Linked DNA regions of Homo sapiens: regions 1, 2 and 3 are each linked to region 4. The links are contacts of gene promoters, found by promoter capture Hi-C in human tissues and cell types (Jung and others, 2019). All regions are on one chromosome and are shown on one strand. The core of a region is centred on a gene start or on the middle of the fragment in contact, and the rest is flanking DNA. Distances in the headings are between cores, read along the strand shown.

Region 1 (6,205 bases), core at 1,696-4,195, 290 kb after region 4:
TCTGGTCCAGCATCTAATCATACCCACTACCACTGAATATGCACATACCTCACACATATCTCAATCATCCTATCCTTCTGCTCACTCCACCTGGATTACTATCACTTCTGCCCTATGCCATAGACCCCAAGCACTAAAGTACTCCAACTACCACACACTGTACTTTATCAATACTGCTCAAACTCAACAGGATGCCTCCTTTGTGAATTAAGTCTGGGGTATCCTTCAAAGTGATGAAACCAGACATGGTATGGGCACAGCAGTGGAAGCTGCTATCTAAAAGATGAAGTACTGTGTCTATACATGACCATCCCTAGGCTGACTGGCATTCTGGGCTATCTGCATTTACTGTCATATCCCCTGCTAGCTATGGTCCTTGAAAGGGCTCCCCATCCCAACAGTGAGAAGGCACATGGTACAACGTGGAGGTGCCTTGTTCCTAGCTGGACCTGCCTGATGGGAAGAAGGAATGGTCCTTTGACAATAAGATGCACAGCAGCTGTGGTGGGGTTTCCTGGCCAACAGAAAAGGAACACAACAAACTACGGCTGCCATTCTAGTGAAAAGAACGTCTTCTCTCAGCAGTTGTCTTCTGCAGCAGAAAGTGGTTAACTGAAAGTGGTCTGGGTCCAAGCATGTCATGGTCAATGGAGAAGCGATTCCCAAATATGGAAACAGGCTATACTAGCTTCCAAGGTGCCTTTTGACCCAATGATGAGGACTAGGTGAGCAAAAGAGAAACCAGCCTTGGAATCAAGGAAGTTGGTAGACACAAAGAAGAGAAGGATGTAAGGCAGAGGTATAGGGAGGAGACCCACACAAGCCAAGCAAGCCAACTTCCCATATAGATGCTATTCAGTCTACTGACTGGCACAGGGATAAAGGTAGCATTTCTAAGAGGAAAGAGGTCTGTGTAAGGTATTACAAGGGCAAGCCCAAGGCTGCTCTGCAGCCTGGTCCCTGATGATTTCGGAATCTCCCCCAAGCTTCAGTTAACCAATTTTGTACAACTATCTAAGCTGAGAAATCTGTTTTAAATGCTCTTTGTCCTTTCTTCAGGCTAAAAATTCAAGTGAGTAGGGACTGCCCTCTGTCAAATAGACTTATTAATGTAAATTAAAATGCTATTTTTTTTTTTTTTGAAATGGAGTCTCACTCTGTCGCCCAGGCTGGAGTGCAACGGCGTGATCTCGGCTCACTGCAACCTCTGCCTCCCAGGTTCAAGCGATTCTCCTGCCTCAGCCTCCAGAGTAGCTTCTGTAAGGCTATAAACCACAGAGATTTTCAAGTACCACTCAGTGTTCAGGAAGCTGAACATTAATTACAAGTGCTTCTTGAAAGTACAAGGGTGAGGATCTTCCTGGAAGTACTATTGGTTAGATAAAATCTCTCCTGGTGGCAGTGCCTCTAATCAGAGTCTGGGGAATCCAAATGAGACGTGGCAATCAAGAATAAGTACAATAAAAGTCCAAAAAGGCTTCAAAATTTCCATCTGGAGGAAGCCAAGTGTCATAAGGAGACTCAAACTGGGTCAGGTACAGAGAATGGTAAAAGCAGCATTCTAAACCTAGCCAAGAGCCATTTGCTGTACACTACAGCCGCAAAATGTGCATGAAGACTCTGCTTTGGGATCTAGAAATTGATTCAAGCCAAGCACCTCTGAAAAGTCCCCAAGGACTACTGGCATTCTTTGGACACTGCCTAAGAAGTTACTTTCTAGGCTCTTGTGTTAGGATAGAACTCTTAGGCTGCTTTAGCACACAATCATCACTTAACAGTGGGGCTGGTATCCTTTTCTGGCTCAAGGACTTCATTTCAAAGCTTTTTCGTGTAGTTTAAAGGGTAAGAGATGACACTGGGGGGATCCTCCTGGCTACATAGTAACTGACAGCCTATAAATGGCTAGTAGTGTCTAGGTCCATGGCCACATGCAATACTGCCTCAGGGCCAAGAAAGACTAAGACAGCATTGACTTCTTCAACTTTGTAAACAGACAGTGTGGTCTCTTCACCTTGTTCAAATGCTTATGCCAATCACTTGTTTATTTAATGACTACTTAGTGATCAGCTCTTCTGTGCCTGGTTATGATGAGGACAAGAGCAGTGAACAGTACATATGCGATCACTGTCTTCATGGAGCTTACATCTAATGGATTCTACTGCCTGCAGCAGATAAGCTAGGAAGTAAAGGACAGGAGGGTTTAAGCTGAAGGAAGCTTAGAAAAGTATTGGCTAGAGCAAAATGTAGTATGGGTAAGAATTATCCAAAGAGCTTGTGAAAATAGATTCTGGGCTCCCCCTGGATAGTCTGGGTACGTCTGAGGTGGGGCATTCGCATTTCTAACAAGTTCCAAGATGATATTGACAACATCTGTGGATGGACCACCTTTTGAGAAGCACTAAACTAGAGCAAGCAAGAACTCGAAGGCGTCCCTGCTCAAAACTATCTCCTCATATATTCCACCATAGAGATAGATTCCTATCACCTGATATTTAATCAGTCAACTGAGTGATATCTGAAGCCTCCAAAGATAAAGGAAGGGGAATTCTGGATAAAGAAGAGTCTAAGCAGCTGGGGGTTGTATGTTCCCCGCCTCCCATCACACATCTTGAAAGTAAGAGAAGGCAAAGCCGAACTGCCTGCTTTGCAGCTGTGCTTCATATCCTGGGAACAGCTCTGTAAGACTGTCAAAGCCAATCTGAAAGTCTGCACATCTCCCAGAATGGCCAAGTCTGGCTTCTGCAAGCCAGACATTCTTCATCTAACTCCCACTGGGAAGAATAAAGAAAGAAAGCAGGAAAAGACAAGAGATGTCAAATGGAGCTATACATCCAAAAGTCAAAGGTGATAAAATAATGGTGTCCCCAGGAGAGGCTGCAATAAAATGACATCCAAGTTCTTCATCATACTCTGCAATCTGTTTGAGCAGTATTAATTGCAGTTTCATTTGCTCCAATTTTCCATGTGTTAATCATTGCCCTGGCATCACGAAAAGGATCTTTCTTCCAAGGAGGTGGCACTACCTACCCCAGAAGGTCAAGAAAGTCAACAAAAACAGTCTGCTTATGACAGGCATATTATGGTCTATAATAATAATCCAACTAATAATAATATGCTTTGGGTAAATGAACACCTCTACACTTTGAGAGGCTGGCTCCTTTTTTGCCCTTTTTAGGTTTAAAAATGGTCTTTAAATGTGACTTTGTGGTGACTTCAAACTACATCTGATGTTTGGAAAGATTTCCAAGTCCAGTTATCAATCAGTTTCAGAAGTGGAGATAAGAAAATACTTTCCCCCATGAACTAACAACAAGAACTTTATAGTATTAAGATTATTACTGGCCAAGCGCATCGGCTCAGCCTGTAAGCCCAGCACTTTGGGGGGCCAAGGCAGTCAGATTACTTGAGCTCAGGAGTTTGAGACCAGCCTGGGCAACATGGTGAAAAAATATATATACAAAAATTAACCAGGTATGGTGGTGTGTGCCTGTAGTCTCAGCTGCTCGGGAGGCTGAGGTAGGAGGATCACTTGAGCCCGAGAGGTGGAGGTTGCAGTGAGCCTAGATAGCACACTGCATTCCAGCCTGGGTGAAAAAAAAAGATTCCACGGACTGATTTCTCCTGTTGAATGTGTTAACAAGGCCCTGTGGTAGAAAAGTGTAGGGTTAAAGATCCCTTAGCCAAGAATCCCAATCTCCTGGTACTTGAAGTAAATCAAGTCTTTTTCCAAAATGCTATGGTGCTTAGTGCTTCTATCACACCATTTAATCCTTAACTGTCTTGACTGTTCCCTCAAGATCTAGTTATTGTTCTCTAATTATCCATAGTGCATTAATTGTCTCTCCAATTAAAGACTAAGTTCTTAAAGCAAAGACCCCCATCTCCTCCTCTCTGGACATTTCCCAAAGCATAACAGGAGTTGTACTGAGCACAGAATAAAGACACACTGGGTCCTTTTTCATTTAAATTGAAATCCAACTTCATTCTGAGTGTCAGGAACTAAACTTCCTTGCTGAAATTTACCCACCAAATGTAGTAGGAGACAGCAGAGATGATCTTTTTTAAAAAACGTCTTCCAAGTAGACTTGACCATTACGATTTGTACCTTCAACATCACTTGGAGAAGAGGCCCATTCTCTGCTTTAGCATCTGTGCATTGATTAAATAAGCCCTATTTTTCCAGCGGTAGCTGTTACCATTCCTGAGAAAGCACACTCAGATGTAAGATACATGCTTTGGCTTGGAAAGGCACCTCCATCTGGCCTGAGCATTTTTTTTTTTTTTTTTTTTTTTGAGACGGAGCTTCGCTCTTGTTGCCCAGGCTGGAGTGCAATGGTGCGATCTTGGCTCATGGCAACTTCCACCTCCTGGGTTTAAGCGATTCTCCTGCTTCAGCCTCCCGAGTAGCTGGGATTAGAGGCATGCACCACCACACCCGGCTAATTTTGTATTTTTAGTAGAGACAGGGTTTCTCCATGTTGGTCAGGCTGGTCTCAAACACCCGACCTAAGGTGGTCCGCCTGCCTCGGCTTCCCAAAGTGTTGGGATTACAGGTGTGAGCCACCACGCCCAGCCTTGGCCTGAGCATTTAGTAATCATCTTCTAACATTCTTTTCCTGTGTGCCCCTATTTCCTGTTACTTTCTTCTAGAGAGAAAAGAAGCCTTATTTTTACCACTTTGGCAGAGCCTTTTGAACAAAAGGCTTTCAGAATTGAAGCAGTACAGCTGACTTTTAGCTGCTCTGAGGATTTTCTTTGCTCCAAAGTATAGCAGACATGAGAAATTCATCAAATCTGGGGCAGATTCTTCATAATTATATGACATTAGTGGTTCTGAGAATTACTACTTAGTTGTGTGCTTGTTCCCATTCATCAAAAGGGTCCATGAAGAGGGGTTATTTCATTCCCATGTAAACATACAGACTTCTCAGAACCTAGTTCATGCTACTCAAAATATCACCTCACACATTTCAGAGGATTTCAGAAAAGTCTGTCAGAAAAAAACACATCACACTAGTCGAATTGTATTTAAAAGCTGTCTTCCGGCCAGGTGTGGTGGCTCACGCCTGTAATCCCAGCACTTTGGGAGGCCGAGGCAGGCAGATCACCTGAGGTCATGAGTTTGAGACCAGCCTGGCCGACGTGGTGAAACCCCGTCGCTACTAAAAATACAAAAAATTAGCCGGGTGTGGTGGTGGGCGCCTGTAATCCCAGCTACTTGGGAGTCTGAGGCAGAATTGCTTGAACCTGGGAGATGGAGGTTGCAGTGAGGCAAGATCGTGCCACTGCACTCCAGCCTGGGTGACAAGGTAAGACTCCATCTCAAAAAAAAAAAAAAAAAAAAGCTGTCTTCCTCCATTCTGCTTTCAAATTTTTAGTATTCAAATGACTAAAAAAGGTGCTAGTACAAATACCAGGCAGAAAGCAAACTATTAAAATTAATGAGTTAATTAATTAAAAGGCCAATGACTGTTGCACTCACTCTAGGAAAAGGAGAAGATCTTACTACAAAACAGCAGAGCCAAATAAGCAAAACGAAATAGGATGTTGACAGGTGTAAATTCCAAGCCAAGCAGCCTTCCTTCCTGACACCTCTGAGAACAACTCAGCAAACCTCAGAGCCAATCCAGTTACTGCTATTTTCCGCAACCGATACCAGCAATTCTCCAAGTTGAGACTAGTGCTCACCAAGAGTTCAAAACAAAGTGGCCTCCAACAAGATCTCTCCTTGGCTGCAGGTACCACAAACCTCGTTCACCTATTAACGCCTACCAGTAAAATAACTTGGTCATTTCACTCTCTACTGTTCCACTCCATCACTTCCATAACTCTACTAGTAGCTATTTACATAGATTTGGATACCTTGTGTTAGTTTCTTGAAACCAATATTCTTGGTTTCTATGCCTGACCAGAGCTGACCATACCTGACTACGGCTGCCCCTTTTCTACCTATGACCTGGAATAATCATGCCATCTTCCCAGGCTCCCGAATCCAGTTATTTCCCACTCAATTCTTCTTAGGCACAGTAATAAATGCATTAAGATGAACTAGACATTAGAAGGACTAAAGCCTGACTTACCTGCATAAATATCTATTCTGGTGGCATCAGCATCTCTGCAAAGTGAAAAGAAAAGAATCATGTGAATTAATATGAAATATCAACCATCAAAATGCATAGTGATTTGAGTAGAATGCAGAGTATTT
Region 2 (5,145 bases), core at 295-2,794, 450 kb after region 4:
GTCTTGTCCAGACTATTCACACAGTAAGCTATCTCTAACACTCTGTTCACTGCTGGGGAAGTATGAATTCACCCTGGCTTTCTGAAGGGCAAAATCAAAACTCTAAAAACTTTTTTTGACCCAGTAATTCCATTTTTCAGAATTAGCCCCAAAGTAATCATCAGAGAGAGGATTGTTAGGTCAAGCTTGTTTATTAGAATACCATTTATCGTGGTGAAGAACTGGGGATATAACCTAAGCATGTCACAGCAGGGGATGAGTTAAATTAATGAGTGTACCTCCATAGGATGGAAAACCATGCAATTGTTAAAAATGATGCAGCAGGCTGGGCGTGGGTGGCTCACGCCTGTAATCCCGGCACTTTGGGAGGCCGAGGTGGGCGGATCACCTGAGGTCAGGAGTTTGAGAGCAGCCTGGCCAATATGGTGAAGCCCCATCTCTACTAAAAATATAAAAATTAGCTGGGCATGGTGATGGCTGCCTGTAATCTCAGCTACTTGGGAGGCTAAGGCAAGAGAATTGCCTGAACCCAGGAGGCAGAGGTTGCAGTGAGCTGAGATCGCACCACTGCACTCCAGCCTGGGCGAGTGAGACTCTATCTCAAAAAAAAAAAAAAAGATGCAGCATAGATGGAATGACATGGAGAATGTTCGTGGTTATGGTATTAAATAGCAAGAAAAAAGCAACAAAAACAGTAATCTGGTAATATCAATTGGGAGTTGTGATGCTGTGGGCTGCAAGTCATAGAAACCCCAATTTAAACTGGCTTAAACAATAAAGGGAGCTGGTTGTGGTGGCTTGTGTCTATAAACCCAGCTACTCAGGAGGCTGAGGCAGGAGGATAACTTGAGGCCAAGAGTTCCAAACTATCCTGGACAACATAGTGAGAACCCATCTCTAAAAAAAGATATTTAAAATCTAGCCAGGCATGGCAGTGCCTGTAGTCCCAGCTACCCCAGAGGCTGAGGTGGGAGGACTGCTTGAGCCCAGGAGTTCAAGACTACAGTGAGCTATGATCATGCCACTGCACTCTAACCTGGGAGACAGAGTGAGACCCCATCTCCTATAAAAAATAAAAAATAATACAGTGAGCCAAGATCGTACCACTGCACTCTAGCCTGGGCAATGTGAGTAAGACCCTGTGTCAAAAAATAATAAAAATAAAGGGGCTGGGCCCAGTGGCTCATGCCTGTAATCCCAGCACTTTGGGAGGCCGAGATAGGCAGATCACTTGAGGTCAGGAGATGGAGACCAGCCTGGCCATCATGGTGAAACCCCCTCTCTACTAAAAACACAAAAACTAGCTGGGCATGATGGTGCACACCTGTAATCCCAACTACTTAGGAGGCTGAGGAAGAGAATTGCTTGAGCCCGGGAGGTGGAAGTTTCAGTGAGCCAAGATTGCGCCACTGCACTCCAGCCTGGGTGCCAGAGCGACACTCAGTCTCTAAATAAATAAATAAATAAAGGGACTCTGTTGGCTCAAATAATTTTAAAAGTCCAGGACAGGCACAGTGGCTGACGCCTGTAATCCCAGCAATTTGGGAGGCTGAGGCGGGCAGATCACCTAAGGTCAGGAGTTTGAAACCAGCCTGGCCAACATGGCGAAACCCCGTCTCTACTAAAAATACAAAAATTAGCCAAACGCAGCGGTGGGCACCTGTAACTCCAGCTACTCGGGAGGCTGAGGCAGGAGAATCGCTTGAACCTGGGTGGCGGAGGTTGCAGTGAGCCAAGATCGTGCCACTGTACTCCAGCCTGGGCGACAGATTGAGACTCCATTTCAAAAAGAAGAAAAAAAAAGTCCAATGGCAGGTGGGGCTTCAGGTGAAGTTTGATCCAGTTAATGAAGTCACCAAAGCCTGGTGTCTCTCCATTCTGCTTTCCATAATGTCAGTTTATCAGTAGGCCAATTTTCTACATGGTGTAAAGATGGCTGCCAGCAGTAACTAGAGCCATTGGCCTCTTCATTTACATCTAATGGAAGGAAGATCATCTTTTTTGGCAGCCTCCTCAGGAGAGAAAATAAGCTTCCTTTCCCAAAAGCCCTGAGCAAAAATTTCCTTGTATCTTGCTAGTTCATTCGTGATCTAATCATGTGCCTGGGGAAATGGGAATTGCTTACTGGCTTAACCAACTGGGACCCATTCCTGAAGCTGAGGGTGGGGTCCACCATATTCCAGTTCCTGTTAAGAAGGAGATGGGCTGCAACCTTAACAGGATCCTAACCCTAACCCTAACCCTACTGTGTTGCTGGACATTGTGGCAGCAACACAGTAACCAACCAATTCTATAAAACATGTATAGGCCCAGTCTTGGTGGCTCACGCCTGTAATCCCAGCACTTGGGAGGCCAAGGCATGTGGATCACTTGAGTCCAGGAGTTCAAGACCAGCCTGGTCAACAAGGCAAAACCCTGTCTCTACTAAAAATACAAAATTAGCTGGGCATGGTGGTGCATGTCTGTAATCCCAGCTACTCGGGAGGCTGAGGCAGGAGAATTGCTTGGACCAGAGGTGGAGGTTTCAGTGAGCTGAGATCATGCCACTGCACTCCAGCCTGGACGACAGAGTGAGACTCCATCTCAAAAAATAGATATAGCTATATAAAATATATAACACGTATATGTAAATATACATGTATATAAATATATATGCATATTATATACAACATGTATATAAATATATATGCATATTATATACAACATGTATATATAAATATATATGCCTAGACCCCCGCCCCCACCAAAAAATATCTATAAGGAAACAAACCAATAAGTCAGAACGATTATTTCTTGGTGGATGAAATTATAGGTAAATGTTTTCCTTCTGTGTTTTGTGTAATGGGCATGGATTACCTAAACACAAACAGTAAACTTTATTTACGAAAATAATGGGACATACCCCACTATTTCCTTCTACTCCAACCCCTACCCCAGCAAGGGCCTCAGAGTAACTGAAGCCAGAGGCCCCACGGAGTCGTTCTTGCTGCTGACAGAGCCAAACCCCAGTACCCCATGGGCCCTGGTTGTTTGCTGGACAGATGCCACCAAACCACTCTCATTGCATTAGCCTGGATGCTGTGGCCCCTAAAGGCCACAGCTTGGGCTGCTGAGGGTTGACCAACCAGCCAGTGGAACCAGTGGTGGAGACTGTGACCATAACAGTACCAGGAAGGAACACTGTGGCATCAGCAGCATGAGAAGCCCAAGATCTCCCAAGACAGATCTCTGCCCATAATCCATGCCTCTTATGTGGCAGCATGTAATTTAGGCCAGCAGTCTTCCTCAAGTGGGGCCAAGGTTGGGGATTAGTCTGTGATGGGGTCAGGCTCAGACAGGGTCTAGGTCAGCCCTTAGTTGAGTAGTCTGTAGCCTAGGGCTAGATACAGGGCTCAGTCCATGATTGGGCTTAGTCTTTAGTCTGTGACCAGGAGCCAGGCTCAGTCTGTGACCAGGGTCATGTCTCTGTCAATGACTAAGTTCAGGGCTCAGTCTGTGACCAGATTCAGGGCACAGTCTTCCGTTTAGGGCTCAGTGTGTGACCAGAATTGCATGATCCAGGGTCAGAATTCAGTCTGTGGTCAGAGTTCAGTCAATGATTAGGCTCAGGACTCAGTCTTTGACCAAGATTAGGGCTCAGTCTTCTGCCAGAGTCAGGGTTAAAAGGTTAGTCTGACTCTTCTGCCAGAGTCAGTCTAAAAGGTTAGTCTGGGCTGGGGCTAGAATTCAGTCTGTGACTAAGGCTCAGTCTTAGAGAAGGATAAGGGCTTGATCTGGGCCCAGAACTAAGGTCTCAAGTTGGGATCAGCCTAATTCAGGCTTAGATCAGTATGTGACTAGAGTCAGGGTTCATTCTAAGGTGATGTCAGAGCTCAGTCAAGAGCTGGAGTAGAGGCTTAGTCAATACCAAGAGTCGGGTTCAAGTTGGAGGATCAGGACCATGACCAGGGCTTAATCTGGCTCTATGCTCTGTTCTGAGCTCCAATAAAGAAGCTTCTGGAGGCATAGGAGCCCAGAGCAAGTCAGTCTGCAAGAAATGAGAGCCCCCAGGCAAGCTTAGCAGGGTCTGGTGGCTGCAGGAAGTTTCCCCTGGACTGCTGAGGCCGGGTGTCCTAGAGCCTCTAACCTACATGGCTCTGCTGCTTGAGATCCCCTCGCACCAGAATAAAAATAGCCACTCACTTCAGAGCAGCTGACAGCGGGTGCTGGGCTGCCTAGGAGGAGGGGGAGCCGAAGAGAAGGAGGAGAGAGGCCTGAGCTCAGCCCCAGCTGTGTGACCTTGGGAAAGTCACTCCTCCTCCTCCAGCCCATTTCCTGAGTGGCAGAATGGGGAGTGAGGATGACATCTGCCTCAGAGGGTGAGAATGAAGTGCTGGGGACATAACATGTGAAGCTTGTTACCAACAAGAAACCCTGGAGTGAAGCCTTGGGAGAAGAAATGCTCTTTTGTGCCCTGTATACTTCCTCCTCAGGGAAGCCCTCCCAGATAACCCCTTCTTTCACATTCCCACAATATCCTGTATCACCCTCTACACCTTTGCAGATGGTAGCCATAGCATGACCTCCCTCATGGCGGGCCTGGGTCAGGGTGACCAGGGAGAGAAAGGAAGGAGGACAGACCCTCGGTACCGTTGCCATCCTCAGGTGCCCCTGGAAAGTGAACCGAGGAAGAGGAGGAGGAAAAAGACAGGAAAGACTTCTCTCCCTTCCCTGCTCATGTTTACTCCGAACCAAAGGGCAGGAGGGTACATGTCCAAATTTCTCATCCTTTCACAGCCAGAACCTTCCTTCCCCATCCATGCTTTGTACCTGCTGTTCTCTCTGCTTTCCAGCCAGGGCGTTTCTCTTCTTCGATTTGGCAGCACGGACTCTCCTTCAAAGAAGGGGTTCAACAGTCAGCTCCTCTGTCGGGAAGAATTATCCACTGCCTCTCCAGGAGCTCCATGCTCTGTCCTCTCTCTACTGGCTGTGTAATCCCTGGGCCTCGGTTTCTTCCTCTGTCCAATGGGGGCCTCATTACCAACCTCACAGGGTTACTATGGAGAGTAACTGGGATACTCCATCTATCACTGGCATCCTGCCTTCCTATCCCTGACCCACACAGCCTGAAGGACAGCACTGAGTTTCCAGGAGTGGGCTGGATGA
Region 3 (3,527 bases), core at 874-3,373, 270 kb after region 4:
GCCCACCTCCACGGCTGTGACACGGCCCGTGTACCACTCCCTGTTCACACGCACCTCCACGTGCAGCCCTTTATCTGACAATGTAGACAGAGGTGCGAGTCAGAAAACTAGCGTAGAGTCCCTCACTTGGCCTGGGCCACATCGAGAAAGGCAGTCCCCAGGGTTTGGAGGACAGGAACACTTAGGTGCTTGCCCCCACTACACCAGGGACACAGAGACCAGGGACCAGCCACCATGGTCTCCTTCCCCATCTGCTATGAGGGTGCCAAAAAGCAGGAGAACAAGTGACCGCCAGGAGTGAACACCAAGGAATTAGTGTTAAAAATAACCACAAAGGGGTGATCCCTTCAGAATTCTGCTTGGGATTAGACTTGGATCCACTGCTGCACAAGAGCCCAGACCCAGGACAGATTCAATGAGCCTTTGGTAAATTGCTGCTGGTAAGGGGCTCCACTTCCACTCCCACTCCCACCCCCGCCACAGGCTGCCAAGTCACTCCCCCAGCTCACCTTTCTGAGCTCTCTTGAGGTCAGCCGAGTCCTCTTCCCCAGCACTGTCTGAGAGCTGCGTGGAGAGCAGTCTATTAGAGGCATCCCCAGTGCCCCCCAAGAGCAGACTTGTGCCTTACTGGCCACCCGGGGTCATCAGCCATCATCTTCACGACTTCCTGTGCTACAGTTTAAATCACCAAGCCCCGTTGAGAGCCACACTCCAAAATCACTGTCCAAGGTACCTACCCTTCTGCTACCTTTACGAACAAGACAGCAGGCAAGGGACATGTGTTTCAAGCCTCACTGATGTACGTCTGTGTGACTTCAGGCCTGTGGTTAAGCCAGAAGCCAGTCTCACTCAAGACCCTACCTGGCACCATGTTTAGTCACTTGTGTAACTGAGAGTCCTTGAGAGATCACTAGGCTTCTGGAAGGCTCATGACACGAATATAAACAGAGTTGGTGCAGACTGCTGGTGGGGGGGGTAGACTGCTGGTGGGTTGTGTAGACTGCTGGTGGATGGTATAGACTGCTGATGGGGGGTGCAGACTGCTGGTGGGGGCTGCAGGCCCTAGAGAGAGAGGCTTTGAGAACCTCACCTCAACCACTCACCTCATTCGAGTCCTTCTTTTCCTCCTTCACAACAAATCTGCCCCGCTTGCACCTCTCCTTCCTCCTCTCAGCTTCCTCCTCAACTTCTTCCTCATCAGAAACTGCGACACTCCGCTTCCGACTAGGGGTAGCCTAGAGCAAGAGGAGCGTGAGGATGTGAGGGGCCCTGTTCAGCCTCTAAGGAGCAGGAAGATTTCATCTAGCCTAAAGGAGTCGTTCCAAGAGGAGCTGTACTCCCTGCAATCCCTGCCTGACATTACTTGGAATGTACACAGGCAACCCACTGGCCCCTGCGCCATAAGGATTTTTGCTCAAAGCTATCATAGGAGAAGCTTCTCAATTCCCTTCCCACCTTAGTCTACCTGGCCAACTAGCTGTCACCTCCCCAAGAACCACCGACCACTGCCGCAGCCCACTCAGGCTATCTGTCACCAGATGACTGACCTAAGCCCACACTTCGAGAGCCAGTGGAGGTGACTCAAGTTTGTGGCAGACCAAAACTCGGAGGCAACAGTGAAGAGCTCGCTGTACAGGCAACCGATGTGCTGTCTGGCCCCAACAAGTCCGTTCAGCTATCAAGGCTTCCCGTCCTCAGGGGCAGCAGCAAAGCTTTAGATTCAGTATCTTCCGAAGGCTCCCCCAGTACAGCTGTGACACTGCACAATTCCATTCCTACACTACTGACACTGGGCTGGGGTATTAAAGAGGACAAGCGTCTCACCGGGGAGAGTTTGATGGGTGACTCTGTCTTCTTCACCACTGGAGTCTTGATGACTTTGGGAGAAGGAACCTCCCGAGGGCTCTTGGAGTTGGGCAGTAAAGATGGTGACAGTTGCTGCACCAGAGGGGCAGGTCGGGATGCAGTCTTGACGAGAGTGTTGGCAGGCTTTCGGGGTGCCTCAGGTGGCTGGAGCAGCCTAGATGTGCTGGCCTCCTCCCGGGCTGCCAAAGCAGGGAGCTTTGGGGTACTGCTGATGACAGGAGCCTTTCGGGGCTGGCTGGCTGGTCTAGGAGTTGGCAAAGAAGGGGGTCTGCTGGGGGCGTTCCTGATCACAGCAGGTAAAGGGGGCGACCGAGGACGCTGAGGTCTACGCACAGGTTCCTAAAAAAAGGCCCACAGAGAGTGAGAACACTGATCCTAGCATGAGACACCTGAGGAAAAGCCCTTCCCAGGCCCCTGGACTTCACCTCAGTGGAAGGTCTGGTGGTCACTTCCAAGGGCAATTTCTTCAGGTCTGCTTGGGAGCGGATGGGTGTGGTTTTCTGCAAGGCAAACATCATGATGAAGTTGTTTGCATATTTTAGTATACTTGAGCAAACTTTTTGGATAGTGTCTGGAACCAGGGACAAAAAAAATAGAAAACCTGAGCCATAGTCCTACTCTTACAAACCTCCTGTTCTCATTGGGGAGACACAAAATACATAAATACTCAACTATCAGCAAATTACAGGAAACTGTGTGATTAATCCAGCAACTGAGAGACTGGCAAAAAGTGTCAATAGACTAAATTCCTATAAAAGGAACCCAAAAAGGTAGAAAGGGCCCGAAGGATAGGGAAAACCTGGATGAAGCCAGAAAGGAAAGGTGGGATTTAGCAGCTAGGGAGGCATATAAAACATCATGGGTTAGTGAGAGCACATCTGCACAGACACAGAAGCCAAAAAGGGAAATGGTTGTGTACTAAATATGATAAACAGATGATATCACAGACATATCTAGAAAAAAACATAGAAAAAATAAAAATGTAAGTGAATAAGCAGTTTAAAAGGAATAAAAGTGGACACATGAAAAATTATGCAATCTTAGAAATATTAAGGAAATTAAATTATAAAACATGCATCTTTGCCTATGAAATTTGCAACAACATTTAAAAATAATGCTCTCATATACTGCTGGTAAATAATAGAAATTAACACATCTCTGGAGGGTACTTTAGAAATAGTTGCAAAAAGCCATAGAATTTTACAATGGACCTTTTAAGTCCTTTAATTTCACTTCTAGAAAGTCATCAAAACAATTATGTGTATGTGTATGTATTAATATAAAACATATACATGGCATTATCTCCCTATTTCTATTAAAAAATATATGTGTGTTATGTGTAGGTATTCATGAGTTCATGACAAGTTGGAAGGATGTATGGTTAATGATGGTTACCTCTAAGGCAGAATTTTTATTTTCTAGAGTTTTATACATTCTAAATGAATTGGACCACTTTGAAGTATATAAGCATTTTTTCTTAAGAATAAGCAAGGTGTTATTCTTAAAATAACACTGTTGGCAAATAGTACACGTGGACCTGGAGGTTGGGGTTGGAAAGCTTTGGCAAACAACGCGGGTGAGTGGAGGGTAAAACTGAGCCTGAGGGAACAGGAAAGCTACTGAAGGTTCCTGTCACAGGCAGAGCCCTGACACAGGCTGGC
Region 4 (5,869 bases), core at 1,749-4,248:
CCTGCCACACCTGCATCATGCTGCCTGCAGCAGAGCTGTGAAACACACCCCAGGGAGAGGCAGACCCCTTCCCTTCACCTGCTCGATAGGCTCAGTCGCCGCTAAGTAATTGGGGTAGAGGTTCAGCCGCAGATCTGCTTCCCGCGCCGCAGACCGTGCAGTCGTCGGTGCTCCTCAGGTGCGGCCTGGGTGCCCAGAGCATTCATTAGACTCTCGGACCCTCACTTTCTCAGTCTTAAACAAAGCTGCAAAAACCAGGACATCTTTATACATTCCGCTGAAATAGGGACATTTGGATTTAGATCACACCTTTCAAGGCCAAGTGGCAGTCTTCACCAGGCACGAGAAATGAGGAGCCAAAGTTTTGTTTCCCTGCTTAATATATTTCAGTGGCTATCCACTGTGAGGATAAGATGGAGCCACTTAGTTTGGCTGTCAAGGCCATTTGTGACCTGGCTCCTGCCTGTCTCTCCAGCCTCTTATTAGGCTTCTCCATGCTCTGAAGGGCCTCAGGTGAACCGAGCCACTTACAGTTCCTTAGGGACAACCTGTCCTCTCCAGCCAGTGGCCTTTGCCCCTGCTGATCTCTCAGTCTCTTTCCTTATGAACCCATCAGATCCTGATCTGGTCCATTCAGCAGAGGACTGCAGAAGTCTGAGGAGCCTTAAGATATCAACTTAAAGGTAACTGTTTTAAGGGAAATCTCCTTAGATCACACCCCTCCCTCACGTTTGACCAACTCTGCTCCAGGCTTTCTTAGCCCTATGTTCTCTCCTTCCTAACACTTACTGAAGACGTAGTTTTGCTCCGATCTGTCTGATTATTTGATTAATGTCTGTCTCCCCAAGAGACTGTGAGCCCTTTAGGGATATGATGGTGTCTGTCTTCACTCCCACTCTATCACCAACTAGTGCCAAGCGCTGTGTCCCCACAAGTAGGTGCTTGATAAATATTTGTTGAATGAAGAAATGACTCCCAACAGCTATGACTCTGCCTTCTGAGAGGTTTTCTGGAAAGAATGAGTTCTCTGGCAGCGTGTCTCCAGAATTCCAGGGAGGGGCTGGGTGGGGATGGGGGTGGTTCTGAGGCTACTAAAGAGAAAGACCAAAGGTTGTATAGGCAAATCCTACCTGCCAATGCCCCAGACTCAAATGCATCAGGCTCATTCCCGGAAGGACAGAGAGGGCTGGCTTGCTACAGAGGTGATATGAAGGGCAAAGAAAAAGCCTCCTGAACCCAGATGGAAGTCTAAATGCTAAGGAATGTTCTGGATCCTCGTCATCAGAAAATCCATAGAGAAGTGAACTGATGTCCCCCCAAACCAGTGCCCAGTGGGTAACGGGAATAGAGGAATGTGCTGTTCATTATAGCCACTAAAAGTCTGCAGAAGTGACAATGCTCTTGCAGGTGAGGGTAGTGATGCGAGGAGTCATTTTCATGCTAGTTAAGAAATATCTATCAGGGCTGGGCACGGTGGCTTAAGCCTATAATCCCAGCACTTTGGAAGGCCGAGGCGGGCAGATCACCTGAGGTCAGGAGTTCAAGACCAGCCTGACCAACATGGTGAAACCCCCGTCTCTACTAAAAATACAAAAATTAGCCAGGCGTGGTGGCATGGGCCTGTAGTCCCAGCTACTCAGGAGGCTGAGACGGGAGAATTGCTTGAACCCGGGAGGCGGAGGCTGCAGTGAGCCAAGATCGTGCCACTGCACTCCAGCCTGGGAGACAGCGTGAGACTCCATCTCAAAAAAAAAAAAAAAAAAAAAAAAAGCAATCTCTATCAGGCACTGTATTAGGTGTTGGAGATACTGAAATGTACAAGACAGGCATGGCCCCTTTTCTCAGGGAGCTCAAAGACTAGTGGGAGAAACAGATAGTAAACAGGCAATTACAGGCAGACAGAGCTTGAAAATAGGATAACAGTACCTACCTTAAAAGGATGTTGTGAAATTAAACGAGATAATCCACGTAAAGAGTTTTCTCAGGGCTTGGCATAGAGTAAGCCCTCTCAAAATGATAACTATTTTTCTCGCTTCTGATAGGGAAGTTAAAATGCAGGGCTCTGTGAAAGGGAAGTGTAAAAAAGATTTCTTCCAGGTCGGAGCCTAGGGAGTCGCAAAGACCACCTGAAGAAATCACAAAAGATCTAAAGAACGTTTAGCTTGAGAGGGAGGAGGAGAAAAAAATAGCAACTCGGTAGCAGTTCAGCTTCACCACTTTACAGCCTATGAAGTATTTGGCTTCCCTCATCTGGTTCGATCTTCAAAGCAACCTAATCAGACCGGCGTCTAGAGTTAATATTTCCATTTTACAAAAGAGGAAAGTGAGACACAGCGCGGAAAAGGACTTGTTCAGAACGAGTCATAAAGCAAAGAAGCCGACCTTTATGGTCCATTATGTGTGGGAAAAATGAACAAACACCGCGGGGCGTTCGTGAAATACTAAGTTATAAACATGGAACAAAGTCCAAGAGTTAACGAGAGCGAAGCATCACTTCTAGGGGTGGGCCGGGTAGGTTTCCTAGGGGAGCTGGCATTGGAATAGGCTTCTTCGCCTGCTTAGTGTCAGGACCCCCAGGGTTTTACCTCTCTCCTTCAGGCGGGTGGGCGGGTTCGCTCAGGAAGTAGCCGCTTGGGGAAGCCTTAGGCAAGGTTCTTCGGGAGAGAGACCCGTCATGATCCCGCAGCCTCAATCCCCGCTGGCCTAACGCTTTGGTTTCCATAGCAATGGGCTCGTCGCAGAAAGGAATAGCCTGTGCCGGGTCTTCAGAGAAATCCTGGCCTCGGCTCCACGCCCCTGAGCAGCCCCACCCTGGCTCAACCTGTTACCCGCCCTGCCGGCAAGCCGGGGTCACTGCAGTCCCCGTGGCGAAGCAGGGTCAGCTCAGCTCACCGCACCCCACTCCATCCAGCCCTGCCCATCTCTACGGCAACGGGCCGGGTCGCACCAGGGCTGCAGCCGAGAGACAGTCTCACCGCTTCCGTAGCCGCCCGGGCTCTGTGCGCATGTGCGACACTCCCTCCCCGGCCCCGCCCCCTTATGCGTCTCCCAGGCAACGCGCCGCGCGGGGCTCCAGGTTCCGCCCAGGGACTAACTCCAGGTCTGCGCGCGTCCAACGAGCACGGCTCTCAACCGGCCTCCTGGCGCCCAACGACCATGGCTTCCAACCGGCCTCCGTGCGCCCAACGACCATGACTCCCAACCGGCCTCCAGTTTCCAACTGTTTCTCGAACAGGGAAGCCGCCATGACACAGCTGACTACGCCCTTGGTCACAGGGGACCTGAGATCCTCCACGATTTACGGGACCGGCGCCACCTCGGGCTCGAACCACCCTCTCGATAGGGCCGCCGCTAAGTAATCGGCGTAGGGGTTCAGCCGCACATCTCCTTCCCGCGCCGCGGACCGAGCAGTCGTTGGTGCTCTTCAGGTGCGGCCTGGGTGCCCAGAGCCTTCGTTAGACTCTCGGACCCGCAAGGGAGCCCGAACTCTTTCAGACTCGCTCTCCCTCAGCCGGACCTCGGCCCTTTTTCACACCCCAGGGGAGTCTGGATTTCTCATAGTCCTGGGCACCAGCCCCTTCCCAGTCTAGCTCTTGGGACTCCCTGAAGCCGGAACTCCCTCGCCTGGACTCCCGGGAGAACCTGGAATCCCCATCTCCAGTCCACATTTTCTCAGAATCTGTCCTAGCCCTTCAGTCTCCCAGGCATGACATCGTGTGGTCCCAGCGCCCTAGGTGGTGAGCTGTGACTCTCCTTAGAGCCTGGCGAGGCCGAGGTCCTCCCCAGCTCGAACCCATCCCACACTCCCCTTCTCAGCCTCTGTGTTCCCCAGTGGTCCTGGAAAAGCCCCCAGTTCCCTCTGCCTGGCCCCAATCCTCACAAACCCAATTACCCACGCTCCTTTCCATTCCATAACCCCCATCACTGCATCCTCCAGGCTCCCATCCATGGAGGACTTGAGGTGGAAAGCAATTTGGTTCAAAATAACCATTATTTATTACTTGAAAGGGAATATTTCCAGTCGTTGCCAGCCTCCTCCCCTTCTAGTATTGGTAAATTTTTTGCACCACTGAGTGGGTGAAGAGTTTTATGCGTCTTTAAATGTTTTAAGGATTTTTTTAAAAAAACAAAAAACTCTCAGGATTTGGGGGACTTTTGTGTTTGAGCATCTTGATCTCTAAACCAGCTTTTTCCATCACCTCACACCTAGGCTATGCATAGAGGTCAGAAAAATGTAAATGAGAGATTGAGAAGTTGGATTGTTCATACTAGTTTGTAAATATGAAAACATTCACAACACTCCAGTTCCAAATAGGCTGAAAATGCATTAGAAAAACTAGTCCTTCAATATTTTTTATCCTTCTACAGTTGTCTTTTTTGACCCAATTATAAAAGTAGTGTACACTTATAGAAAAATGAGGACAGGCATGGTGGCTCACGCTTGTATTCCCACCACTTCACTTTGAAACGCTGAGGCAGTTGGATCACCTGAGCTCAGGAGTTCGAGACCAGCCTGGGCAACAGGGTGAAACCCCATCTCTACCAAAAATACAAAAAATTAGCCGGGCTTGGTGGCTCACCTGTGGTCCCAGTTACTCAGGAGGCTGAGGTGGGAGGATCACTTGAGCCTGGGATGTGGAGGTTGCAGTGAGCTGAGATTGTGCCACTACTCTCCAACCTGGGGGACAGAGTGAGACCCCGTCTCGAAGAAATAAAAAGAAGACAAGACAGGCCAGCAGCATAAGTGGCTAGGGACAATCACTGTTAACATTTTGGTGTATTTTGATCAGAATCCATTCATATATATATATATATATATATATATATATGTTACAACATGCTTATACTTAAAAAAGATACATCACAAAAGTTCACTTTTTAGTAACCTGCTTTTTTCTCCCATCTAATATACCACCCGTCTATGTTTCATACACAATTACATGTATTTTATTTTATGACATACCAAAATTTATTCAATTGCTTCCATACTGTAGATTTTGTTTCCGCATTTTAGAAAGAAAATATGAACAATTTTTTTTTTGAGACAGAGTCTAGCTCTGTGGCCCAGGCCCGAGTGCAGTGGCACAGTCTTGGCTCACTGCAACCTCTGCCTCCTGGGTTCCAGTGATTCTCCTGCCTTAGCCTCCTGATTAGCTGGGATTACAGGTGCTCACCACTACACCCGGCTAATTTTTGTATTTTTAGTAGAGATGGGGTTTCACCATGTTGGCCAGGCTGGTCTCGAACTCCTGACCTCAAGTGATCTGCCCACCTTGGCCTCCCAAAGTGCTGGGATTATAGGCCTCAGCCACTGTGCCTGATCCTGAAGAATTATTTTTAAATGGGCAAAACCATTTAAAGGTATTTATTTGTAAGACTACTTCATGGTGTAACCAAATTATCAAAAAGTGAAAATGCAGTGCTTAGAAGTATATCCACTCTTCAGCATTTCCTCATTTTGACCAGATTGTTATATTTTCACCTGGAGTACCTAGCTCCATTCTACCCCACCCCACCCCATGTTTCACCTCACCTTTCAGAGTCTCCTAAAACCCCTGTCCACCCCACACCTCCCTATTCTAAATTTTCCCCAAACCTTCTTCTGGAATTCCCCTATTAACCAGCCTAACATCTGTCCAAACTCTTACTTTTATTTCTCCCTGCTCTGATCTATACTCCCCCAAGCCCCCGCCTCCCAGATCCCCTTTAGGCACAGGGTCTAGAGCAAGTGCTCCCCAAGCTAAACACCTCTCAAATTCATCCTTCGAACCCTACTCTACAACTTTTACTCCTCCCCTCTAAGACCCCTCTCTCCCATTTCATCCTTAAGAAGGATCATCAAGATGACTGCTTTTGGCTGGGTGGGCAT

Evidence for each region. Contacts are between HindIII fragments. The study calls those that stand out against the background at their distance.
Region 1: a fragment that was not itself captured here is called in contact with the fragment with the promoter of DUSP18 in region 4 in 2 of the 25 tissues and cell types used here (dorsolateral prefrontal cortex and mesenchymal stem cells).
Region 2: a contact is called between a fragment that was not itself captured here and the fragment with the promoter of DUSP18 in region 4, in 1 of the 25 tissues and cell types used here (H1 embryonic stem cells).
Region 3: a fragment that was not itself captured here is called in contact with the fragment with the promoter of DUSP18 in region 4 in 1 of the 25 tissues and cell types used here (dorsolateral prefrontal cortex).

Annotation. Positions count from the first base shown.
Region 1 is chr22:30,950,683-30,956,887 of GRCh38, forward strand. MORC2 (MORC family CW-type zinc finger 2) reads right to left here. Exons shown (of 26, transcript NM_001303256.3): 3 at 6,081-6,115. Among named protein-coding and RNA genes, the nearest start is that of MORC2, 15 kb to the right of the region's middle. The HindIII fragment of the contact is 6,988 bases long and covers 1-6,205 here.
Region 2 is chr22:31,115,074-31,120,218 of GRCh38, forward strand. It overlaps LOC105372995 (a long non-coding RNA gene), which reads right to left. Exons shown (of 3, transcript XR_938163.3): 1 at 4,810-5,145. Among named protein-coding and RNA genes, the nearest start is that of INPP5J, 5.3 kb to the right of the region's middle. The HindIII fragment of the contact is 5,360 bases long and covers 1-4,224 here.
Region 3 is chr22:30,932,957-30,936,483 of GRCh38, forward strand. MORC2 (MORC family CW-type zinc finger 2) reads right to left here. Exons shown (of 26, transcript NM_001303256.3): 18 at 2,292-2,366; 19 at 1,825-2,205; 20 at 1,104-1,235; 21 at 510-564; 22 at 1-74. Among named protein-coding and RNA genes, the nearest start is that of MORC2-AS1, 12 kb to the left of the region's middle. The HindIII fragment of the contact is 4,500 bases long and covers 1-3,527 here.
Region 4 is chr22:30,664,877-30,670,745 of GRCh38, forward strand. It overlaps DUSP18 (dual specificity phosphatase 18), which reads right to left and starts at 2,999. Exons shown (of 2, transcript NM_152511.5): 1 at 2,586-2,999. It also overlaps a transcript of SLC35E4 not described here. RefSeq lists an enhancer at 3,097-3,486. The HindIII fragment of the contact is 10,031 bases long and covers 1-5,869 here.